Regions from separate parts of the Homo sapiens genome. Here region 1 is linked to region 2. Evidence: promoter capture Hi-C in human tissues and cell types (Jung and others, 2019). All regions are on one chromosome and are shown on one strand. The core of a region is centred on a gene start or on the middle of the fragment in contact, and the rest is flanking DNA. Distances in the headings are between cores, read along the strand shown. Region 1 overlaps RBMS2 (RNA binding motif single stranded interacting protein 2). Region 2 holds the start of CNPY2 (canopy FGF signaling regulator 2).

What was found. Contacts are between HindIII fragments. The study calls those that stand out against the background at their distance.
Region 1: a fragment that was not itself captured here is called in contact with the fragment with the promoter of CNPY2 in region 2 in 2 of the 25 tissues and cell types used here (heart right ventricle and pancreas).

The regions. Positions count from the first base shown.
Region 1 is chr12:56,571,341-56,577,261 of GRCh38, forward strand. RBMS2 (RNA binding motif single stranded interacting protein 2) reads left to right here. Exons shown (of 14, transcript NM_002898.4): 5 at 358-515. Among named protein-coding and RNA genes, the nearest start is that of RBMS2, 52 kb to the left of the region's middle. The HindIII fragment of the contact is 8,132 bases long and covers 1-5,921 here.
Region 2 is chr12:56,312,556-56,318,123 of GRCh38, forward strand. It overlaps CNPY2 (canopy FGF signaling regulator 2), which reads right to left and starts at 3,433. Exons shown (of 6, transcript NM_014255.7): 1 at 3,266-3,433; 2 at 2,575-2,687; 3 at 2,296-2,411. The coding sequence starts at 2,662. PAN2 (poly(A) specific ribonuclease subunit PAN2) reads right to left here. Exons shown (of 26, transcript NM_014871.6): 26 at 4,381-5,088. The coding sequence ends at 5,054. It overlaps CNPY2-AS1 (CNPY2 antisense RNA 1), which reads left to right. Exons shown (of 2, transcript XR_002957416.2): 2 at 1,974-2,253. RefSeq lists enhancers at 3,418-4,006, 3,507-3,556, 3,637-3,786. The HindIII fragment of the contact is 7,285 bases long and covers 1-5,568 here.

The DNA of each region.
Region 1 (5,921 bases), core at 918-3,417, 260 kb after region 2:
GCTCAAAACAAGCCAGCCAAGGAGCAAGGCAGTCTGAGGGAATCCAGCCTCTGGGACCGGCTGCTGGGGGAGAGCGGGAATGCTGCTCTGCCTGTTTCTAAAAGAGACAGCCAAACACCATTTATGACTTGTATGATGGGCTTGTATAGTACTAGAAATATTAAATCTGCACTTCTCCCTCCTGGAACTCAATATACAACCCGTGGTAGTGGGACTGGGTGTTAACAAATAGAATAATCTTTGTTTATGTGGGACCCTTCCTATAGTCTCTTTTCTGAAATGTCATTTGTGGGGAGGGCTGAGGGTGGGAGAGGGATAAGAGATGTGAGCCTCATTTTCTCACTGTTATTTCCACAGCAACAGGAACAGGACCCCACAAATTTATACATCTCAAACCTCCCACTGTCAATGGATGAGCAGGAACTGGAGGGGATGCTGAAGCCCTTTGGCCAGGTTATCTCCACCCGTATCCTTCGAGATACCAGTGGGACCAGCAGAGGTGTTGGCTTTGCAAGGTGAGGATGGCAGGAGTGGGGAAATGATGAGGTTAATAACAAATGTCACTTGGGGGTCACCAGAAAACAAAATCTATGCCTTTCCCACACAAGGTCAAAATACTTTACTATTATTCAAAAATACTTGATGGTAAGTCAAAAGTTCATTTTAGGCCAGGTGCGGTGGCTTACACCTGTAATCCCAGCACTTTAGGAGGCCAAGGCAGGCATATCACCTGAGGTCAGGAGTTTGAGACCAGCCTGGCAAACATGGTGAAACCCCGTCTCTACTAAAAATACAAAAATTAGCCAGACGTGGTGGCGCATGCCTGTAATCCCAGCTACTCAGGAGGCTGAGGCAGGAGAATTGCTTGAACCTGGGAGGCAGAGGTTGCAGTGAGCTGAGATCGCACCACTGCACTGCAGCCTGGGGAACAGAGTGAGACTCTGTCTCAAAAAAAAAAAAAAAAAAAAGGTTCATTTTATTATAGGTTACAATACTCAAAAACCCATTAGCCCCACCTAAATATTTTTTTTATAAAGATGGGGTCTTGCTGTGTTGCCCAGGCTGCTCTTGAACATCTGGGCTCAAGTGATCCTCCTGCCTCAGCCACCTAAGCAGTTGGGATTACAGGCATGAGCCACCACACTCGGCTAAGCTCCCTACTACTTCCTAGGGAAGTACTCTAGGCTTTGTTCCTTTAATCCAGACCCAACCAGAGTAAAAAATTCTGTATATTCTTATAGTTTACTGAGTATTTCTCATCTTGTCTCATTTAATCTTTACAACATCCCTGTGAGATAAATATTCTCTATCTTACAGATGAGGAAAGTGAACTCTTCAGTAGAAATGATTTGCCCAGGGTCTTACAGGAGTGGGTGTTAGAGCAGAGCCCTGATCCTTCTGGCTTTGAGAGCAGTAGGATGAGGTAGAAGTTTTGATCTTCCTTTTCAGATCTGTTGGGAGACCTGTATTCCAGAACAATTCTGCACCTGTGATATCAGAGCTTGTGAGCCTTGGTTCACTCTCTGAAGTGGAGATTGATTCAGATGAGTAATTTTCCCACAGTATTCCCTATACCTGCAGTTTTCCCAGGTGCCCTTCTTTGGGCTTTGGTATCTGCCCTCACTGTCGTAGGGTATCAGCCTCCCTTAGCCCACTTAAGAAATGGCTCTGCTTTTATTTATTTTAAGATTTTATTTGAAAGGAGATTCTTTTGACTTTTTTTTTTTTTTTTAGTTTCAAAATGACTGGACTAAGTGAGCCAAGCACCCCTTTTTGCTTTATATCTTGTCTGGTCCGTGAACACCCCCTTACTCTGAGTGTTTCAGACCTTGGGAACAAGAAATAGTTTCTCTTGGCTGGGCGTGGTGGCTCACGCCTGTAATCCCAGCACTTTGGGAGGCTGAGGCGGGTGGATCACCTGAGGTCAGGAGTTTGAGACCAGCCTGGCCAACCTGGTGAAACCCCGTCTCTACTAAAAATACAAAAATTAGCTGGGTATGGTGGCGGGCTCCTGTAGTCCCAGCTACTCGGGAGGCTGAGGCAGGAGAATCACTTGAACCCGGGAGGCGGAGGTTGCAGTAAGCCGAGATCGCGCCATTGCATTCCAGCCTGGGCAGCAAAGCGAGACGCCATCTCAAAAAAAAAAAAAAAAAAAAAAAAAAGAAGAAGAAGAAAAGAAATAGTTCCTCTTCCCCAGCTGACTCAAGCTTAGTAGCACCACCTGCTGGCAATCCCGTGTATATCTAAAGGAGAGTTCCTAGGCTTGGGACCATCGAACTTATTTTGCAGGTTGAGCAGAGGTTCTTAACCTTTCTCAGTTTGTGCCACCCTTAGTTATCTAATAGTTTTTCACCCTAGACCAAAAGAAATACCTAACAGTTCAATTTATTAAGTAACTGAATGGTCCACACTTTTTTTTTTTTTTTTTGAGACGGAGTCTCGCTCTGTCGCGTACCACAGGTGCGTACCACCACGCCTGGCTAATTTTTGTATTTTTGTTGTTGTTGTTGTTGTTGTTGAGACGAAGTCTCACTCTGTTGCCCAGGCTGGAGTGCAATGGCACAATCTTGGCTCACTGCAACCTCTGCCTCCCGGGTTCAAGTGATTCTCCTGCCTCAGCCTCCTGAGTAACTGGGATTACAGGCGCCCGCCACCATGCCCAGCTAATTTTTGTATTTTTAGTAAAGATGTGGTTTCACCAGGTTGTCCAGGCTGTTCTCGAACTCCTGACCTCAGGTTATCCAGCCGCCTCAGCCTCCCAAAGTGCTAGGATTACAGGCATGAGCCACTGCGCCCAGCCAGTCCACACAACTTTTTAAAAAAATTTCCTGACAGCAGTAACTTCATGGTCCATACAGCTTAAGAAGTGTTTATGCTTTAACAACTTTGTAGCTGTTTGAAAAAATAATACACAAACATTGAAAGAGAGCATGTCTTTATTTCATTCTAACTATACTTACTAATGGAATATGTGCCTGTTGGAATTGCACAACTTCTCAAAATTTGGTATCAGAATGGACACCTACACACTCATTTCCTGTTACGTATTGGTTTTCTTATGGTATTTGCTTTTGTCATAGCAACTATTTAAACCCAGCTTTGTGAAAATATGATGTTATCTATCAAAAGGATTGTAGGGGGAACTAATGTTGAAGCAGTGTACAATTTTGAGTTAGTAGTGCACACATTCTCCAACAGATATTGCTGTTTTTCTTCAAAGAGTTAAAATAACCCTCGTTGTGACCCTCTGAGTTCACCACAGCCACCCACAGTGCCTGAGAGCACAGTTTAGGAACTGTGGCTTTAGAGACTTTTGAAAAACTATGAAATCTCTTATATGTTTCTATGTTAATGTCTACAAGTTTTCTTCATATATTCAGATTCATGCAAAGTATGATTTCCAGCAAATTATAAATATTGGCATTTAAAATAAAACTGTTACTTCGTTTAAAAATGTATTCAAATGAGATCTAAATATCATAGCAATCTGATACACAAATCATTCATTTAAAAAATACCTGACTTTGGCCGGACTCCGTGACTCACGCCTATAATCCTAGCACTTTGGGAGGCCGAGGCGGGCGGATCATGAGGTCAGGAGATCGAGATCATCCTGGCTAACATGGTGAAACCCCATCTCTACTAAAAATACAAAAAATTAGCCGGGCGTGGTGGCGGGCGCCTGTAGTCCCAGCTTACTCGGAAGGCTGATGCTGGAGAATGGTGTGAACCCGGGAGGCGGAGCTTGCAGTGAGCCCAGATTGCACCAAGGCGCTTCAGCCTGGGCGACATGCACTTCAGCCTGGGCAACAGAGTGAGACTCGTCTCAAAAAAAAACCCGACTTTGGGAGGCTGAGGCGGGCAGATCACTTGAGCTCAGGAGTTCAAGACCAGCCTGGGCAACATGTGAAACCCCATCTCTACAAAAACAAAACAAACAAAAAAAATTAGCTGAGCATGGTGGCACGTGCCTATAGTTCCAGCTACCTGGGAGGCTAAGGTGGGAGGATCACCTGAGCCCAGGAGGTCAAAACTGCAGTCAACCATGATCACACCACTGCACTCTGGCCTGGGCTACAGAGTGAGACCCTGTCTCAATAAATAAATCAATACAGGAATATGGGTAGGGCTGGAGGCAGATGGGGTGGGTCTTGCCCTGGGGATGGAGCTATGGGCCCATAGGACCCCCAGCCACTTCCTAGTCCCCCTTACCCCTACACCCCCCCTCAAAAAAAAAGGGCTATTTTTTTTTAAATTAAATACAGTAGTCTCGGCCAGGCATGGTGGCTCACGCCTGTAATCCCAACACTTTGGGAAGCCAAGGCAGGCAGATCACCTGAGGTCGGGAGTTCGAGACCAGCCTGACCAACGTGGAAAAACCCCGTCTCTACTAAAAATGCAAAATTAGCTGGGCATGGTGGCGCATGCCTGTAATCCCAGCTACTCAGGAGGCTGAGGCAGGAGAATCATTTGAACCTGGGAGGCGGAGGTTACGGTGAGCTGAGATCACGCCATTGCACTCCAGCCTGGGCGACAAGAGCAAAACTCCATCTCAAAGAAAAAAAAAAAAATAGAGTGGTCCCCCCTTATTTATGGTTTTACTTTCTATGGTTTCAGTTACCCACAGTCAACTGAAAATATTAAATGGAAAAGTCCAGAAATAGTTACAAAGTTTTTAAATTGTATGCCATTCTGAGTAGCATGATTAAATTTCAGGCTGGGCTCGGTGGCTCATGTCTGTAATCCCAACACTTTGGGAGGCCGAGGCGAGCAGATCACTTGAGATCAGGAGGTCAAGACCAGCCTGGTCAACATGGTAAAACCCCATCTCCATTAAAAATACAAAGCTAGCCAGGAGTGGTAGTGTGCACCTGTAGTCCCAGGTACTCGGGAGGCTGAGGCAGTAGAATTGCTTGAACCTGAGAGGCAGAGGTTGCAGTGAGCCAAGATCACACCACTGCACTCTAACATGAGTGACACAGTGAGATTCTGTCTCAAAAACATAAATAAATAAAAAATTTCATGTTGTCCGCTCCATCCCACCCTTTGTCCAAAGTATCCACACTGCAAATGCTACCCACCCATTAGTCACTTAGTAGCCATTGTGGCCATCAGATGAAAAAGCGTAGTATATCTAGGGTTTGGTACTATCCATGGTTTCAGGCATCCACTAGGGGACTTGGAATGTATCTCCTGAGGATAAGGGGGGACTACTAGAGTCATAAATCTCATATCATTCTTATATTCCTTTTTTCTTCTTGAACTTGTGTTTCTATTCCATTTCTCTATAGAATTTTGTTTCTATTCCATTTCTCTATAGAATTGTATTCTAGTGTAAAATATTTTTATAAAGTCTTTATGGATCATCTTGTCATACTTCTCTGCAACAAAAATATGTATATAAATTAAAAATTTTGGCCAGGCATGGTGGCTCATGCCTGTATAATACCAGCACTTTGGGAGGCTGAGGTGGGCGGATCACTTGAGGTCAGGAATTTGAGACCAGCCTGGCCAAAATGGTGAAACCCCGTCTCTACTAAAAATATAAAAATTAGCTAGGTGTGTTGGTGGGCACCTGTAATTCCAGCTACTTAGGAGGCTGAGGTGAGAGAATCACTTGAACCTGGGAGATGGAGGTTGCAGTGAGCTGAGATCACACCACTGCACTCCAGCCTGGATGACAGAGTGAGATTCCAAAAAAAAAAAAAAAAAAAAGTTATCTTTACAATGATGAGCTCACAATTGCCCAGACAACATAAATATATTAAAATGTTCATACAAGGCCAGGGGCAGTGGCTCACGCCCGTAAGCCCAGCACTTTGGGAGGCCAAGGTGGGTGGATCACCTGAGGTCAGGAGTTCGAGACCAGCCTGGTCAACTCGGTGAAACCCTGTCTCTACTAAAAGTACAAAAATTAGCTG
Region 2 (5,568 bases), core at 2,183-4,682:
TGTACAATTCTTTTTTTTTTTCTTTTTTTTTTTGAGATGGAGTTTCACTCTTGTTGCCCAGGCTGGAGTGCAATGGCGCGATCTCGGCTCACCGCAAGCTCCACCTCCCGGGTTCAAGTGATTCTCCTGCCTCAGCTTCCCGAGTAGTTGGGATTACAGGCATGTGCCACCACGCCCAGCTAATTTTGTATTTTTAGTAGAGACGGGGTTTCTCCATGTTGGTCAGGCTGGTCTCAAACTCCCAACTTCAGGTAATCCACCCGCCTCAGCCTCCCAAAGTGCTGGGACTACAGGCATGAACCACCGTGCCCGGCACCTCATTGTACAATTCTAAGAAACAAGACAGTTAACATTAGCTCCAAGTTATAAACAGAATTTTTTGATTAACCTGATCAACTTATACTTCTAATTTCTATAGATGAAGATAATTTTTTTTTAAATTATAGTTTAAGTTCTGAGATACATGTGCAGAACGTGCAGGTTTGTTGCATAGGTATACATGTGCCATGGTGGTTTGCTACACCCATCAACCTGTCATCTACATTAGGTATTTCTCCTAATGCTATCCCTCCCCTAGCCCCCAACACCCCAACAGGACCTGATGTGTGACGTTCCCCTCCCTGTGTCCATGTGTTCATTAATATTTTATTTTTGGCCGGGCGTGGTGGCTCACGCCTGTAATCCCAGCACTTTGAGAGGCCGAGGAGGGTGGCTCACTTGAGGTCAGGAGTTCGAGACCATCCTGACCAACATGGAGAAACCCTGTCTCTACTAAAAATACAAAATTATCCAGGTGTGGTGGTGCATGCCTGTAATCCCAGCTACTCGGGAGGCTGAGGCAGGAGAATCGCTTGAACCCGGGAGGCAGAGGTTGCGGTGAGCCGAGATCGTGTCATTGCACTCCAGCCTGGGCAACAAGCCCTAAACTCCATCTCAAAAAAATAATAATAATTTTGTTTAAATTGAGACTAATATCCTCAGTAAGCACAGTATTAAAGATGTAGTGTAGGCTCTGTGAACAACAGCTATTAAAGTACCATAATCTTTTTTCTTTTCTTTTTTTTTTTTTGAGAGGAGTCTCGCTGTGTCGCCCAGGCTAGAGTGCAGTGGCACCATCTCAGCTCACTGCAAGCTCTGCCTCCCGAGTTCACGCCATTCTTTTCGTCTCAGCCTCCTGAGTAGCTGGGACTACAGGCACCCACCACCACGCCCGGCTAATTTTTTGTATTTTTAGTAGAGACGGGGTTTCACCATGTTAGCCAGGATGGTTTCGATCTCCTGACCTTGTGATCTGCCCACCTCAGCCTCCCAAAGTGCTGGCATTACGGGCGTGAGCCACCGCGCCCGGCCTTTTTTTTTTTTCAAGACAGAGTTTTGTTCTTGTCAACCAGACTGGAGTGCAGTGGTGCGATCTTGGCTCACTGCAACCTCTGCCTCCTGGGTTCAAGTGATTCTCCTGCCTCAGCCTCCTGAGTAGCTGGGACTATAGGCATGAGCCACCACGCCTGGCTACTTTTTTGTATTTTTAGTAGAGACGGAGTTTCACCATGTTGGCCAGGCTGGTCTCGAACTTCTAACCTCAGGTGATCCGCCTGCCTTGGCCTCCCAAAGTGCTGGGTTTTGGTTTTTTTTTGAGACAGGGTCTTGCTGTGTTTCCCAGGCTGGAGTGCAGTGGCACAATCACGGCTTACTGCAGCCTCGACCTCCTGGGCTCAAGTGATCCTCCCACCTCAGCCTTCCAAGCAGCTGTCACTACAGGCACATGCCACCATGCACTGCTAACTTTTGCATTTTTTTGTAGAGTTGGTGTTTTGCCATGATGCCCAGGCTAGCACTGTAATCTTAACACTGCCTTATATATTGCTTATTAGATACACCTTTGTGTACATGTGTGTTGTTTTCGATTAAAATTTCCTAATTATGAGGATAAGACCTTTTATTCTTATTTCTGTTTTTTCATTTTTTATTTTTAGCTCCGACTCAGATTTTGAACGGATGTTTGCATGTATACCACAGTGCTACATTAAAAACCAGTCATGTGGATGTGGAGAAGGGTGCTGATCAGGACTCCCTGTTTGCTAACAAATTCTACAGCAGAAACAAAGTATTAAGGTTTGCAGCCAGGAAGCAAGTGCATGGGGAATAAGCCTGCAGCTTCTTCCAAATGAGACAGAGCCAAATCTTTTTTCTGAGTCTGTTTTCTTCATTTCTATTAAACCAAGGTCCTTTTTAAGCAGTCGAATTTCATCCAAAGCCAGAGTGAGCTACTTTGTTTGGGGGAACAGTAACAGTTACCTCCACCACTGACTGGCTGCCATCTGGATTGATCCGGAAAGATCCCATCTGAATGGTCTTCTTGGGGTCCACCTGGGCAATTTCCCATTCTAGTTCATCCACCAGAGCCCTGCATGCTGGTGGAAGAGGAGAGAATGAGAGCAGGGGACAGGGTAGGGGGTAGGGTGTGAGGAGAATGGGATCAACCCAGGATTTCCATTCATCCTTCTCCCAGGCCTTGGATCTCATGCCCTCCCAAGGCTCTGCTTCCTCCACTTCTTTTTCCCGTTGTGCCTTTACCTCCACAGTGGAGATCCTGGCTCCTCCGAGCCCAGGCGGTTCCCAGCAGGGCCCCCAGAAGCAGGGCCAGCCAACCCCAGCCTTTCATCTTTAGCGTAATGGGGTCGCTCCACCTGGGTTTGAGTGGGAATAAAACATAAGTGTGAGGAGCCGACTCCATTTTTCCCTGACCCCCCCAATCCTCACCCCAAGGCTTTCAAAGGCCTCATTGTGACTCTGGCTCTACTTTCCAGGAAATGGCCGGGACACAAAGGGGCTTCTCTGTTCCAGCGCTTGAGGGCTCTGATTCCCCCAGGGTGGTGGGTGGGAGCGCGAGCTCAGGACTTGCGGCTCAGCCCCAGACTCTACGTGGATAGGTGAGGCCCTAAGTGTTGGTACTTTAGCACTGCATGCCTAGGGTTCACGGGGCTTTGTGGCAGCTACAGGAGGTAAGTTGGCGATTACGTGAGGACTACAGGCACTAGGGAACTGCCGGCAGGGAGCCCTCAGTCAGGCCAGGAGGCCAGCGAGGAGAGCAATAACTAGGGCCCATTTGGATCCTGCACCGAAGATTCCTGCGTCCCCACCTCCAGCCCGTAAGTGATTACCCGTACGGACACCAGCCCCCTTTCTAAGGACTCCGCCATTGCTTTCGCTTCAGTCCATCCCCAACCCTCAGCGCCCAGCGCCTCGCCGCCCGCATCCGTCCCACCTCTGCTCCCAGGGCCGCCGCCGTGGCCCAAGCGCTGGAAGACCGCTGGACTCTCACTTTGGCCCCAGTGGCTCCCGAAACTACACCTGGCTGCAGGGAGCAGGGCTGTCCGGGATTCTCCAGAGCGCTTCGCCGCCTGCCACACACGGGGTGTCCCGGCGACCGCCTGACCCAGCTCCCCTGACGCTAACTGGTACCTAAGCGGGACTCCAGCGTGCTGCGGTGCGAGCCCCAATCAGACACCGACCCCAAACCCGCCCCTCCAAACTCTCGCGCGAACAGGCAGCTTAGGAGAGGCTCCCGAACAGCAAGGACCCCGGTCAATCGCCGAAGGACCCAGACTTGCGTGGCGAACAGATCCACGTGACCACCAGGGGTCAGCCGTAGAATAGGAGTGGCCTTAAGCGACGACAGAGTCCGGGCGTGCTGTATGGGAGCGGCTAGTCGTGCGCGTGAGCCAGCCCAGGTGGGCTAGGACCTTCAAAACGGTGCGCTGCCGGCCAGCGAGCAGTCCAGGTTTCAATACACAGGAAACTACATCTCCCAGGAAGCACCGCAGCACCGGACCCATCTTTGTGAGCAACTACAAGTCTCAAGCTATCCTGGGACCTGTAGTTTGTCGGCTTACACAATTAACGGAAACCATACTGTACATCTTCAGTCTGACTTAGGGTACTGGGCAGCTATAGCAAAGACCCAGCATTGCCCAGAAAAGGCATAAATTATACCTTTTTCCCCTTTTTTTGAGACGGAGTCTCGCCCTATCGCCCAGGCTGGCATACAGTGGCGTGATCTCGGCTCACTGCAACCTCCGCCTCCCGGGTTGAAGCAATTTTCTGCCTCAGCTAGGGTTACAGTCGCCATCCACCACTCCCAGCTAATTTTTGTATTTTTAGTAGAGACGGGGTTTCACCATCTTGGTCAGGCTGGTCTTTAACTCCTGACCTCGTGTTCCACCCACCTCTGCCTCCCAAAGTGCTAGGATTACAGAAGTGAGCCACCGCGCCCGGCCTAATTATACCCTTTCATATCCATAACTTTGGATTCCGGACCTTTACCTTCAAAGGAAGGAGAGGAAGACTGAAGCCAGAGAACCCACACTAGCAGTTCTCTAATGAGATAAATAACAAACGATATTTTATTTTTATTTTATAAAACATGCAGTTTACAACAAATTTTTAAAAAATGGAACAAAACTTGGGACAGGCAAGTGGGATGGAAGACAGATGCTTCTCAGCCATCAGCAGGAATAAATGAAGCCGGCAGCCAAGCTTTGTCCAGGATCCAAAGGCCCTTTTGGCAATGGTATTGGCAACACTGGTTTGCTTGGGCCACCAACACTCTACTTGCTGGCCCCTCCAGGTATCCCTGAAGCAGTTGGTGACTTGTGCTAAGTCTTGAACTACTGTGGTATCCTCTGTCACTGTCCAGGACTTCAATCCCTAGCCAGCTAGGAACTTACAGTTATGGTTCCAGGAGCTTCTCTGCCTGGATATTAGTCACCCAGGATATTAAGAATACCAATTACTTTCCATCTGGGTCAATTCTAGACTCCATGTCTGTACCACTGTTTTGCAAAGAATGAAGAAGGAATGAATCTGGCTCCTAGAACCTTTGCAACAATTCTGCTGTGTTCCAGTTCAATTAATAGCACCATCTGTGACCCTAGACCCTGAGCACGTCCAGTACTGGAAGTGGACAAGGTATAGCCAACTTAGGAAGCCATCTCCCAGTTCTGGGGCTATAGAACAGTAAAGGGAGAGGGCCGTGGTTCTTTGGGAAGGGTAGTCAGAGCGCCAGCACTGAGGAGAAGACAGCTGCATCTGTCAGAGACAAAACCAAAAGCATGATTCAAGCTGAGTGGAGAAAAAGCATCTTCTCATACTTCCTATGAAGGAAAAATGCAAGAGAAAAAAGGGCATGGACCTTCCCTGAACATTTTAGACTTGGGCAAGAGGAAGTTATAGTTAATGGAGAGTTTCGATAAAATGTATTTTACTGAATGTTAGGAGGATGAAGTGCTTTGTAAACTGTTAAGTGCTATTCTCCATATGTGCAATCAAAATCCACCCAATTGGGGGCGCTCAGGCTCATGCCTGTAATCCCAGCACTTTGTGAGCCCAAGGTGGGTGGATCGCTTGAGCCCAGGAGTTTAAGACCAGCCTGGGCAACATGGCAAAATCCTGTTTCTACAAAAAGTACAAAAATTAGCTGGGTGTGGTGGTGTGTGCCTGTTGTCCCAGGTACTTGGGAGGCTGAGGTGGGAGAATCACTTGAGCCCAGGAAGTCGAGGCTGCAGTGAG